2 separate regions of the Homo sapiens genome follow, and region 2 is linked to region 1. The links are contacts of gene promoters, found by promoter capture Hi-C in blood cells and fetal thymus (Javierre and others, 2016). All regions are on one chromosome and are shown on one strand. The core of a region is centred on a gene start or on the middle of the fragment in contact, and the rest is flanking DNA. Distances in the headings are between cores, read along the strand shown. Region 1 holds the start of HTRA3 (HtrA serine peptidase 3). Region 2 overlaps ACOX3 (acyl-CoA oxidase 3, pristanoyl).

The links. Contacts are between HindIII fragments. The CHiCAGO score rates a contact against its expected background, and 5 or more counts as called.
Region 2: a fragment that was not itself captured here is called in contact with the fragment with the promoter of HTRA3 in region 1 in 1 of 17 cell types (M0 macrophages); the score reaches 6.4 in M0 macrophages.

What each region holds. Positions count from the first base shown.
Region 1 is chr4:8,267,396-8,273,264 of GRCh38, reverse strand. It overlaps HTRA3 (HtrA serine peptidase 3), which reads right to left and starts at 3,511. Exons shown (of 9, transcript NM_053044.5): 1 at 2,912-3,511. The coding sequence starts at 3,296. LOC105374373 (a long non-coding RNA gene) reads left to right here and starts at 3,084. Exons shown (of 2, transcript XR_001741572.2): 1 at 3,084-3,158; 2 at 3,869-4,659. RefSeq lists a silencer at 5,826-5,869. The HindIII fragment of the contact is 2,501 bases long and covers 2,882-5,382 here.
Region 2 is chr4:8,422,496-8,428,364 of GRCh38, reverse strand. The region is part of intron 1 of ACOX3 (acyl-CoA oxidase 3, pristanoyl); the gene reads left to right. Among named protein-coding and RNA genes, the nearest start is that of ACOX3, 15 kb to the left of the region's middle. RefSeq lists a silencer at 1-103. The HindIII fragment of the contact is 4,246 bases long and covers 1-4,020 here.

The DNA of each region.
Region 1 (5,869 bases), core at 2,262-4,761:
GCCTGATGGAGCCGGGGGCCCAGGCCTGACCCGACTCCCAGCCTCAGGGGCCCTGCCACCCCTTGCAGAGGAAAAGCCAGGAGGCCCACAGAGCATAGCCTGCAAAGCCAGCCAGACCCAGGCCAGGCCCAGCCGGGTCACTTCCTGACCATGTGACCTCAGAGCAGTCCCTCACCCTTCCTGGCCTCCAGCAGCACATCTGTGGTGCCTGGGAAAGGACCAGGCTTGCCGTGGGAAATGAGACAGGGCTGGGGAGAGGCCGGGCACCCAAGGCCTCCACAGGGAGTGGACTCTGCGTGTCGCCCTGCCGAAAGCTGGCTGTCCAAGGTCCCCGTGCACCGGGCTACAGTGGCAGGGCTGCACACCGCCCACAGTGTGAACGGCGCCCTGGAGATGGCCAGCAGCCTCCCACCTGCACTCTCTGCCTCCCCTCCCCACCAGGCCCCATTTCCCCACCTGGCTCCGTGGGCTCTGGTGGCGACAGGGCTCTCGGGTCCTGTGCAGGTCTCTGCCTTGCCCATGCCCTCTCTGTCCTCCCCATCCTTCCCCAGGCAGTTCCCAGTCCTCCTCCACAGCTTGGCACAGAAGCGCCTCCTCTGGAGAGCCTCTCCTGACCTTGCTGGGTGAGACAGATTTGGGTCGGTCGCCACAGTGATAACAACATATGAAACAACGTGGTCTGGGGGTTGCCCATCAGGCAAGGGGCGTGTGCCTTCGTGTCTGGCAGCAGCTCTCCTGCAGGTCCCCGCTTCTCATTTGAGGAAACTCACGGTGAGCAAGTGGTCTAAGGTCACCTCATCGGGAAGAGGTGCGCTGGGACTGCAGACCCCGGAGCACTGAGGCCTCAGCCCATGACCCCCCACGCTCACGGCCACCTCCTGGCCTTCTGAGCTCCCCATGCACCTGTCTCTGGGGATAAGACTATTTTCCTCCTCCCTTCTGTCCCCTCGATGGTCTGTGAGGCTTGAGGGCACCAACAGGGTCTGCTACATGGCTGTGCCCTGTCACCAGCCTGGGGCCAGCCAGGCACACAGAGAAAGTGCCTCATGACGCGAACTCCAGAAGTCAGTGAGTGTCTCAGAACACCCAGGCTGCCTCCAGCTCCCTGCCAGCCCTGAGCCCTGCAGCCCTATTCTCATAGTGCCTTCCACGGTGGGGAGCGGGGTGGGGAGGTGGCCCCCATGCACACAGCTGGGCTGCAACGGGCAGGCCCAGGAAAGGTACCCCAGCACCAAGCCCCAAACTGATGTGCCACTGTGACAGTGCAGCAGGCGTTGAGTCAATGACAACGTCTCCAAGACCCCGCAGCCCCACACTCGCACCCCTCAGCCTCCTGGGCAGTCTCAACACAAGCCGGACCTCATCACCCTCACCCCCATGATGGTTTGAACATGTTCCCTCCAAAACAGAGGTGTTGCCAATGTGATGGTATGAAAAGGTGGGGTGTTAGGAGGTGATGAGGTCACAAGGGTTCCTCCTTTCGAGCGTGGGCAGAAGCTCCTTATGAGAGAGGCTACAGGCAGCGTTCGGCCTTGTCCCTGCCTGCACTTCTGCCGTGTGAAGACGCAGCTTCCTCCCTTCCGCAGAGTGCAGCCCTCACCAGACAACCAAGCCTGCTGGCACCTTGGTCTTGAACTTTCCAGCCTCCAGAGCTGCGAGAAATACATCTCTGTCCTGTATAAACTGCCCAGTCTCAGGCGTTGTACCAGCACAAGGTGGACTGGGACTCCCCGCCAAACCCTGCGGTGGCTCTTCCACATAATCCTAGCTAATCTCGAATGATGCTTCCCACACGGGGCTCCCAGGAACCCCAGCGTGCTGGGAGGAGGTCACGTGTTCTGCCAGAAAAGAAGAGCTCTCTGTTGAAATTCTCTGGGGAAGCCCTGGGTTTCATCAATTGAGGACACTGCAGGTTTTCTCAGAACCTCTGATAGATTGAGCCTGTGAGTCTCCACTACAGGAATAGAGCGCTCAGTTCCCCAACCTTTTTACACCATGAAAACACTTGGAATTGTGTTCAGCGGACCGCAGAAAAAATGAGGAAGCCCTCTGCAGGCTTCCCAGGAGCCCCGGCAGTTGGTGCTCCCCATGGTGCTCCTGAGGCTCCACGGAGCCTGTTCTGGCAGCTACTGCATCTCTCCCTGCCACCTGCAAGCTGATGGCACGCAGGACCCTGACTCCTATCCATGAACCTGGGGCCCGTCGCCTGTCTTCAGTGAACCCCTGTCCGGCCACAGCAGAGTCTGCTTTCCTAAGAGGCACCCCAAACAGGGAAAAAGGTACAGCAGGTTTTCCAGCATTTTCCTCCACGTACAGAGTCAACCTGCACGGTGAGATGCAACCTAGAGCCGACTGCCTCAAGGGAGGCTGTTCTAGGGTCTGACCCCGACATTCTCTCCCCCAAGCAGCCTCTCCCTGGGGCGCCCTAAGCAGTTCAGGGACCTGCACCCTGACCCTTCCCACACAGTCCTGTGGAGACATGCACTTAACCACAGTCTCCAGGAAAGAAGGCATCACCCAAGAGGGCACCCCGGCTGGAGAGTTAGGGCAGGAAAGAGTGCCCTTCACTCAATACCCGGACAGAGCAGGGGTCCAAGGATCAAGGGAATGGGCACGAGACATCAGTTCTGAAGAGACCAGAGCTGGAAACAGTCCTAGATGAGGCCCCTCGGGTGGCCAGGAGACCACCGGGTTTCCCTTTTGACTCTAATTCTGTGACCTTGGGGACAGCGGTTTACCTTTCCGGGCCTCAGTTTCTTCATCTGAAAGACCAGAGGGCTGGTGGGATGATTTCTGAAGGGCCACCCGGTGGTGCCCAGGGAAGGGCGACCTCGAGCTCGGCCCTAACTCCCGGCCTTAGTTTCCCCAAGAGAAAGAAGCTTCACTTCCTCCCTGGCCCCCGAGCGCTTACCCAACGGGCAGGCGCCCTTCTGCAGCTGGCGCACGGGCGTCCCGGAGAGCTGCAGCGCGCGGCGGCTGGCCGCCTGCAGCGCGCACACGTTGGCATAGGTGTGCCCGTCGGTGCCACACACGGCGTGCGACCAGCGGCAGCGGCATAGGCCGCGCACGCACTCCAGGCTCTCGCCGCAAGGCGAGTCCAGAGGGCCGCCACAGGGCTCGCCCTCGCTGGCGGCGCACACCAGGCAGCAGTTGCAGAGGTCGGGCACGTAGCCGCCGGGGCAGCGGGGGCTGGGACACCGCGACACGTCGCAGCGCGCGGGACACGGCGCCGCAGGGGGCTCCCGGGCCAGCGCCAGCGCGGCCAACGCGGCCAGGAGCAGCGCTCGCGCCTGCATGGCGGCAGGGCCGGCGGCGGGTGGCAGCGCGGGAGACCGGGCGGGGGCCGGCGGGGACAACGAGGCCGCTGCGGGGCCGGGCGCCGGGCGCCTACGGATGGGACTGGGGCGGACGCGCGGTCACATGCGCCGGTGGCTCAGGCTGGCGGGCGTCAGGGCGGCAGGGGCATCCCCAGGGCGCAGGGAGCGCAGGGACCAGCTCCCTCCAGCCTGACGGTCCGCGGGCGGCGGGTCCCGCGCCTTTAAAGGCGACCGCCCAGCCCGCCCTCGCTGGAAGGGGCGGCCCGGCCCCTCCGCCAGCCCCGCCCAGGCCCCGACAGGGCCCCGCCTGGCCTTCCGGGCCTGGACCCACCCGGCAGGCCTTGGGACTCTGGTCGGCCTGGTCGAGAAAACCCGAGGCTACAGACACGCAGGGGTCCTTTCTGGTGGGGACCCCCGGGCCCAGCCTATCCCAGAAACGTTGGGGGATGCGTTCTCCCCGCTCTGGAGGGGTCTGTCCGTGTCCAGTCTCCTCTGTGCCTCAGTTTCCTCCTCCAGGAAAGGGGAATTGACAGCATTTCTCAACCTCATAGGGTCGTTGGAAGAACCACAGAGGCCATGGCTGAGCAGTGTTCCCGAGTCCTCGCTGTCCACGGAACCGGAAGCTGTTTCCATTCTCATCATTGCTCCTGCATTTTCTGCAGGGCCCCTTCAGACCCAGGTCCCATCACGAGAGTCAGAATCTGGTGACAGTGCGTCAGCTGATGGGGTGAAGGCTGCGGAGTTGTGAGAGAAGGCAGAACCCCCCTTGGAGGTGAATGTCAAGCCTGAAGAGGAAGGATGGGAAGCGGGAGCTGGCCGTGACCTGGGCAGAGGCTCCCAAGCAAAAGCAGGTCGGGGCAGCAGGAGATAACGCCGCGCGCACAGCCTGGAGCTGCGGTCTTCACACTGTGTGTGTTCCTAGTACCCTGGGCTGCCTGGCGAAGCCTGGGTGTCCTTTTCAGAACGATGTCGTCAAGTAGATTTAAACGCATAAAACAAAGACCATGGGGTCACAAAGGGGAACAATTCTATCAAAACACAGTTATCAAAATACATGAAACAATTCATGACAGCGTGGCCTATGGGCTTCTTTATCAGCATGTTAATGGCAGGTTCTGGTCGGTCTGTCGTCTGATACCAGTGGACACTTCGCAGCAGCCCTGTGCAGAGGGCTGCCACTGGAGACACCTTCGGTGAGGGCGGTAACATGGGGATGTAAACACTGCTTCTGCTGGCCGTGGAGCCACAGGCCCTGCTGGCTGGGGTCAACTGCACCCCCAAAGGAATGAATGCTGGACTTCAGTTGGAGTTGTTGGGGTAAATAAAGACGTTTTTCCATCCAGGTTCACAGATACCCAAGTTAAGAATGGGGAGGGGTACCTCTGGTCCAGAGGAGGGAGGGGGAGCTGGAGGTTAAAGGGCCTCGGGGAATGGGAAGGTGGAGGGGCCTGATCCCTGAGGGCCCTGGGTCCTCAAAGGCCTGGGGAGGCGTTGAGTAGGGAGCGGCCCCATCAGACAAGATGTCTGGGGAGGATGAGGTGGGAGGAGGCGGGGCGCCAAGTGTGAGCCCCCATAGGACCCAGAGAGAGTGAAAGGTTGAAGGGTCCCAGGGGACGGGGAGAGAAGGGACCTGGAGCTTCTCCCCCTAAAAGGCCCTTTGACAAGGGGCAATAGCACCTGCGTTTCTGCCTCTACAAACCTCAAGTGCACTTTACTTTGAAGATGTGGAGAATTTCAGGCCATTTTTTGGAATGACCCAGAATGCTAGGAGTTGGGGACCTCAGGGCTGGGCTGAACCTCCCTCAACCTTGGCCAGGGCTCCCGGTTCATGTCTCTGCAGGGTGGGCTTGCCTAAGGCGCAAGGAGAATTTTTCACGTGCCCAGGATGCCTGCCCCTCGAGTAAGCCTTGGTGGGCTACTGTGGCCCAGAGCTGGCTTTTTGGGGGGCCTGTGTTTTCCTGCAGACACCTGGCCCTGAAGATCAACACTTTTCCATCCCTGGATCCTTCAGTGCGCAGAAAACTAAGTCCCTGGGAAGGGCCCAAGAGCTCATTTCCCCTAAGCTTTTCCTCTACAATGGGGAAACTGAGTCTCTGAGAGAGTCCAGGACCGGCGCTGCAGCAGGTCAGAGTTTGCACAGCCTGCCACAGCTTCCAAGGAACCACAGCTACCGATGTGTAGGCCCTGAGGCTGCTGGAGCGCTCTGCATACACTTGACTCAGTCTTCACGAAGCGCCTGAGAGGTGGGCGTTAGGATCCTTAGAACAGGGCTGGGGGAGTGCAAGGCCAGAGATTCTGGCAGGTGGGCCTCAGATCTTGGCCTGTCCTTAGGTCAAGTCCTTGCTCCTCCCTGGAGACCATGCTGCCCCCAACGGTCACCATCTTGACCACCTTGCAGTGGGGATTTAGTCCTCTTGTACAGAGAGGGAAACTGAGGCCCGGAGTGAAAAGACCCTTCTCTGCTCTGCAGCTGGGATGCAGTTCCCTGGGGTGGCCTTTGCTCTTCCCTGAAATGGGCAGGCAGGGCTCACAGTGGCTGCCTTGAGCTTGGC
Region 2 (5,869 bases), core at 648-3,147, 160 kb before region 1:
TGAGCGCCTGCTGGGTGAGTTGGACGGTGCAGAGCAGCGAGGACCGGGGAGCCCGAAGGTGGAGGCTGCGTTAGCGCCAGGGGCGCGGACGCGACGGGGCGGGAGCGGGGGCACTGAAAGTGCCAGGCCCGGGGGTGTGGGGGCTGTGAGGATTCGCGGGCGGGGGGGCCAGGGTTACCCAGAGCAGGGGCCAGGAGGGCCGGTGGCCCACGTGCTGGGCATTCGGAGGACTTTACACATTGAACTAGGCAGCTGTTCACGAAAGGGAAGTGATTCACATCGCAGAGAAGACTGGAGGCAGCTGTTGCCAGAATAGTGATCTTGAAGCCCCACTTCCTTGCCAGAAACTGCTCCAAGCGTCTCATGTGAATGACAGAAGCCTAGACGGTAGACCCTGGGCACTAGGCAGGCGTCACTGTATTTGGATGACAGTAGCCTCAGACAGTAGACCCTGGGCACTAGGCAGACATCACCATATTTGGAATGCAGCAGCCTAGACAGTAGACCCTGGGCACTAGCCAGGTGTCGCCGTATTTGGAATGCAGCAGCCCAGACAGTAGACCTTGTCTAGACACTGGGCCCTAGCAAGGCATTGTTACTGGCCGGTCTTTGCTCCCAGGGTGGTGGCAGGCCGGTCCCAATGGCAGCAAGGCTCTTGCTCTCTGACCTGGGGTTCTTGGCCTCATGGATTCCAAGGAATGGAACCTTGGGCCATGCGGTGAGTGTTATAGCTCTATTAGAAGCTGTGGGTCACGGAAGAGAACTGTGGAACCCAGCGACTAGTGTTCACCTCAATTAGGATGAACCCAGGCACTTAGCTGTGCGGGAACAATGGCGAGTCTCTAGCCCGGGAGCAGCAACCGGTGCCTCGCTGGATCAGAAGCGCAGTGGACACCCTGCTGGATCTGGAGGGGGGTGGAAGTCAGCGGGGCGTCTGCGACAGCAGCCATCAGCAGTGGTGGATGGCAAGCAAAAGCTCAGCTCAAACCGGAACAAACATGGACCAGAAAAGTGTGCAGTTGCAAGATTTAATATCGTGAAAACAGAGCTCCCATGCAACGGGAGGGGACCCAAAGAGGGTTGCCCGATTCGGCTTGAATGCCTGGGTTTATATCCTGATCATTGTCCCTCCCCCTGTGCTCTCAGGCGACAGATGATCTGATTATTTCTTTACCACCTGTTTTTAGCCTCATTGGTATTTTAGTGAGCTCTCTTTACTACCTGATTGGTCTGGTGTGAGCTGAGTTACAAGCCCCATGTTTAAAGGTGGGTGTGGTCACCTTCCCCAGCTAGGCTTAGGAATTCTTAGTCGGCCTAGGAAGTCCAGCTAGTCCTGTCTCTTAGTACCCCCTCTCAACAGGAAAACCCAAGTGCTGTTGGGGAGGTTGGCCGATGACCGCTGTAACTGCTTCCTGCTGAATTGGGGCGTAGTAGAGGTCATGCAGTTGAGATTTCCTCGGGAGTGGTGCCTTCGATGTCATCAACATCGGAGCATGGGCTAGCAGGCCAGTCCAGGGGTCCACGGTAGATCTTAGTCATGGACTGCATCTGGGGCTCCATTTGAAGAACATTTGTAGTTTCACAGCTTTGATTCTGGAAGAGACAAACTTAACAAGGAGGTTAAAGATACAGGGATTGAAATGTGTGGCCCGAAGTGCAGGGGCATATGGGTGTGGATGGTGAAAGTGGGGTTTCCTTTAGAAAAACTCCTATACAATGGGGCATCAATATTTCTGGGAAGCCGCATTCTCCATAGAAGCTCTTGGTAAGGGGAGCTACTGGTAGTATAGCGGCATGGAGGGGGTGAGGTGATAGTGAAAGGGGGGTAAGACAACAGTAAAGAGAAAAATATGACGGGGGGGGCCATGGAGCTCTACGATTCCAGTTACTTTCCTCGCAGTTGTCGCTTGAAGAGCAGGTGCAGATCCTCTAGAGGTTCACAGGAATAGCTAGCGTTGTCTCCTGAATTTTTGGGTTCCTTTGGCGGTATCCAGGGTTTGATGTGTCTAAGACTCCACTCCAGACACTTTAACTGCACTCAGGGTAGATAAAATGACTGGGTAGGGTCCTTCCCAGTATGTATCTAGGGGTGGGGACTTAGAGGGAAGGGACTTGACTAATACCATGTTACCAGGGTGGAATTCCTTTCCCTCCTCTCGGGTACAGGTTCCCTGTAATGTTTTAAGAACTTGTTGATATTTGGCTAAGGAGGTGATGTCTGCAACTAAATTGGCCGTCTCTCGGTCAAGCACAAGGTCATTGGTTAGGAAGGGCTGTCCATACAGCATTTCGTATGGGCTAAGTCCTGCTTTTTGGGGGGAGTTTTGTATTCTTAATAAGGCTATGGGCAACAGAGCAGGCCATGCGAGGTGGGTTTCCTGAGTTAGCTTTTTTAGATGTTGTTTGAGTGTTTCGTTCATTTTCTCGACCTTCCCTGAGGATTGTGGCCTCCAGGCGCAGTGTAAGTGATATTGTATGCCTAAGTAACGTCTGCGATACTCGCTGGGTTACTGCAGCCTTGAAAGCGGGGCCATTGTCACTCTGTAAGTCTCAGGGAAGTCCGAATCTGGGAATTATTTCATGAATTAGTGCCTTTATTACGTCTTCGGCCTTTTCTGTCCTACAAGGAAAGGCCTCCTCCCAACCAGTGAAAGTATCTATCCAGACTAGTAGATACTGAAATCCCTGAGATTTGGGCATGTGGGTAAAATCTAGTTGCCAGTCTTCTCCTGGGTAATGGCCTGTTCTTTGTTCTCCTGAAGGAGCTTGGCGATAAGGCAGGGGATTATTTCTTTGCCACACTTCATAGGCCCTGACTATCTGCTTGATAGTTTTGAAAAGTCCTGATCCAGTTAATAATGATTTGGCCGTCTGATAGGTGCTATCAATGCCTAAGTGAAAGGTCTGATGAAGGGTTTTAAGTAATTTCAATTGGTTAGCTGCAGGCAAAAGTATTTTTCCTTCTTCGGTGGCTAGCCATCCTGAGGGGAAGAAACTATGTCCTCGTGAGGTTCCCCATCCTATTTCTTTTGAGTACTGGGGCTTGGTTTCCTACAGGGGATTACCCCATACTAGGGGTCCTTCTATAAGCATTTCTAATGGAGGGTCCCACCTTGCGGCTCTTTTGGCTTCAGTATCTGCTTCGCGGTTCCCTTCTATTTCTCTTTCCTTTCCTTTCTGATCACCCCGGCAGTGTAAGACTGCCACCTCTTTAGGTTTCTGTACAGCCAATTGTAATCTCCTAATGGCTTCCTGAGATTTGATAGGTGTTCCCTCGGAAGTTAGGAATTCCCTTTCTCTCCATATTGCTGCATGGGCATGGAGGACTAGGTAAGCATTCTTAGAGTCTGTGTATATATTTACCCTTTTTCCTTCTCCTAATTTTAGTGCCTGAGTGAGGGCTATTAGTTCTGCCAGCTGAGCGCTAGTTCCTGGAGTGAGGGGATTACTTTCAAGTATTCCATTATCACTGACCACTGCATACCCTGCTTTTCGAAGTCGTTTTTCTACAAAGGAACTTCCGTCAGTATACAAGTTGAGGTCGGGATCAGTCAAGGAAACCTCTAGAAGGTCCCCTCGAGCGGCGTAGGTTTGAGCAATCACCTGTTGACAGTTATGTTTTATCTTTTCTTCATTGTCTGGAAGAAATGTGGCTGGATTAAGAGTTGCACGAGTGCGCAGTCGCAGCACTGGCCCTTCAAGTAATAGAGCCTGATATTTAAGCAAACGGTTGTCTGACAGCCGTAAGTCTCCTTTAGCAGTGAGTATGCCGTCCACATCATGAGACATCCACACAGTAAGATCTCTTCCCTGTATCATTTTAACTGCTTCAGATACTAAGACTGCTACTGCTGCCATTACCCATAAACAATGAGGCCAACCCTTTGCCACTACATCAGTTTCCTTACTCAGGTATGCCATGGGTTGCAACCTGGTCCCTCGGACCTGTGTAAGGAATCCTAGAGCTATTCCTGTTTTTTCTGTGACACATAAAGAAAAGTCTTGCCCCTTTGGCAAGCTTAACACTAGGGCTTGGATTAGGGCCTTCTTTAGGGCCTGGAAAGCCACTTCTGCTTCAGGTGTCCTTCTTACTAAATGGGTATTCACTTTCTGAGTTTCCTTAATTAGTGTGTATAATGGCCTGGCTATTTCACTGTACCTGGGAATCCATATTCGGCAGAAGCCTGTTATGCCAAGGAACCCTCTTAATTGCTTTATGGTTTTGGGATAAGGATAAGCCAGTATAGGCTGGATGCATTCCTCACTGAGGGCCCTGGTGTGTCTGGATAATTTTAGCCCTAAGTATTTAACCTGCTGTGAGCAGAGCTGAGCCTTTGGTCTGGAAACCTTGTAGCCACAGGTGGCCATGAAGTTTAAGAGCACTTGGGTGGCTTGATGGCACAAGGTTTCTGAATGGGTGGCTAAAAGTAAATCATCCGCATACCGAAGGACAAGAGTGCCCAAGTATGAGAACTGGCTCAAGTCTCGGGCTAATGCCTGGCCAAATAGATGGGGGCTGTCCATGAACCCTTGGGGTAAAACAGTCCAGGTGTGTTGAGACATTAGATTCAAAGGATCTTCAAAGGCAAGCAAGAATTGAGAGTCAGGATGTACAGGGATGCAGTAAAAGGCATCCTTAAGGTCCAGGACTGTAAACCACTCTGCTTCCTCTGGTATTTGGGAAAGCAGAGTGAGTATAAGATTAGGTACAGCTGGGTATAGAGGAACAACAGCCTCATTGATAATCCTGAGATCTTGCACTAACCTCCACTGTCCATTGGGTTTCTGTACTCCTAAAATTGGAGTATTGCAGGGGCTATTGCATGGTTTTACTAGGCCTTGGGCTTTTAGGTCCTTAACAATCTTTTGGAGTCCTTGTTGGGCCTCGGGTCTAAGAGGGTACTGCCTTTGGTGGGGAAAGGAGGCGGAATCCTTTAGTTTAACTTGAACGGGACGGGCATTCTTCCCTCATCCATATTGTCCTTCTGTTGCCCAGACTTCAGGATTAATTCCTTCCTCAAGTAGGGGACAGCAAACGGTGTTCCTTCTCCCATGTTCAGGTGTATAATGGCCCCTGCTTTTGCTAGAATGTATCTCCCTAACAAGGGTGTGGGGGTTTCAGGCATAATTAGAAAGGCAAGTGAAAAGAATGAAGTTCCCCAGTCACAACTTAGTGGCTGGGAGAAGTATCTAGTGACTGCCTATCCTAGGACCCCTCGGGTAGTGACAGATCTGGAGGACGGTTGTCCAGGACCAGAGACTAAGACTGAGAAGGCCATGCCAGTGTTCAGGAGACAGTTAACCTTCTGGCCCCCAATGGTCAAGCATACCTGGGGCATGGGCTGGCGCTTGCCCCGGGCACCCTCAGTCCTGCTGCTGGCTTATCTGGTTAGTGGCTTCTGACTGAAAGGACCTTCATCCCCTGGGGCAGTGGGCCTTCCAGTGATTCCCTTGACATGAGGGGCATGGATGAGGGGCAGCTTATTTCTATTCAGACAATCTTTTTTAAAGTGTCCTTGTAGACCACACTGGAAGCAAGCCCTATCAGGCATTTGATTTGCCCAGCGTTTCCCTTTTCCAGAGCCTCCAAAGTAAGATGCTCTCCTCCCCCAATTTCTACCCAGCTTACCTCCCCTGCTGCGATACAATCTCCAAGCCTTGGCTCCTTGGCCAGGGCCTTAGAACTGATGACCCAGTACTTTAACAACTGGAGCTATGCCTACAACAACACAATAGATCAGGATGAAAGCGAATTGAGTAAATTAAAGGGAGGTGCATATTCCTATAGTGGCAAATGGGGGCAAGAAGTGAACTTCTGCTTGCCTGAGGGCCCGTTTGTCCTGTTCTGCCTGCTCCTCCTGATCTCTAT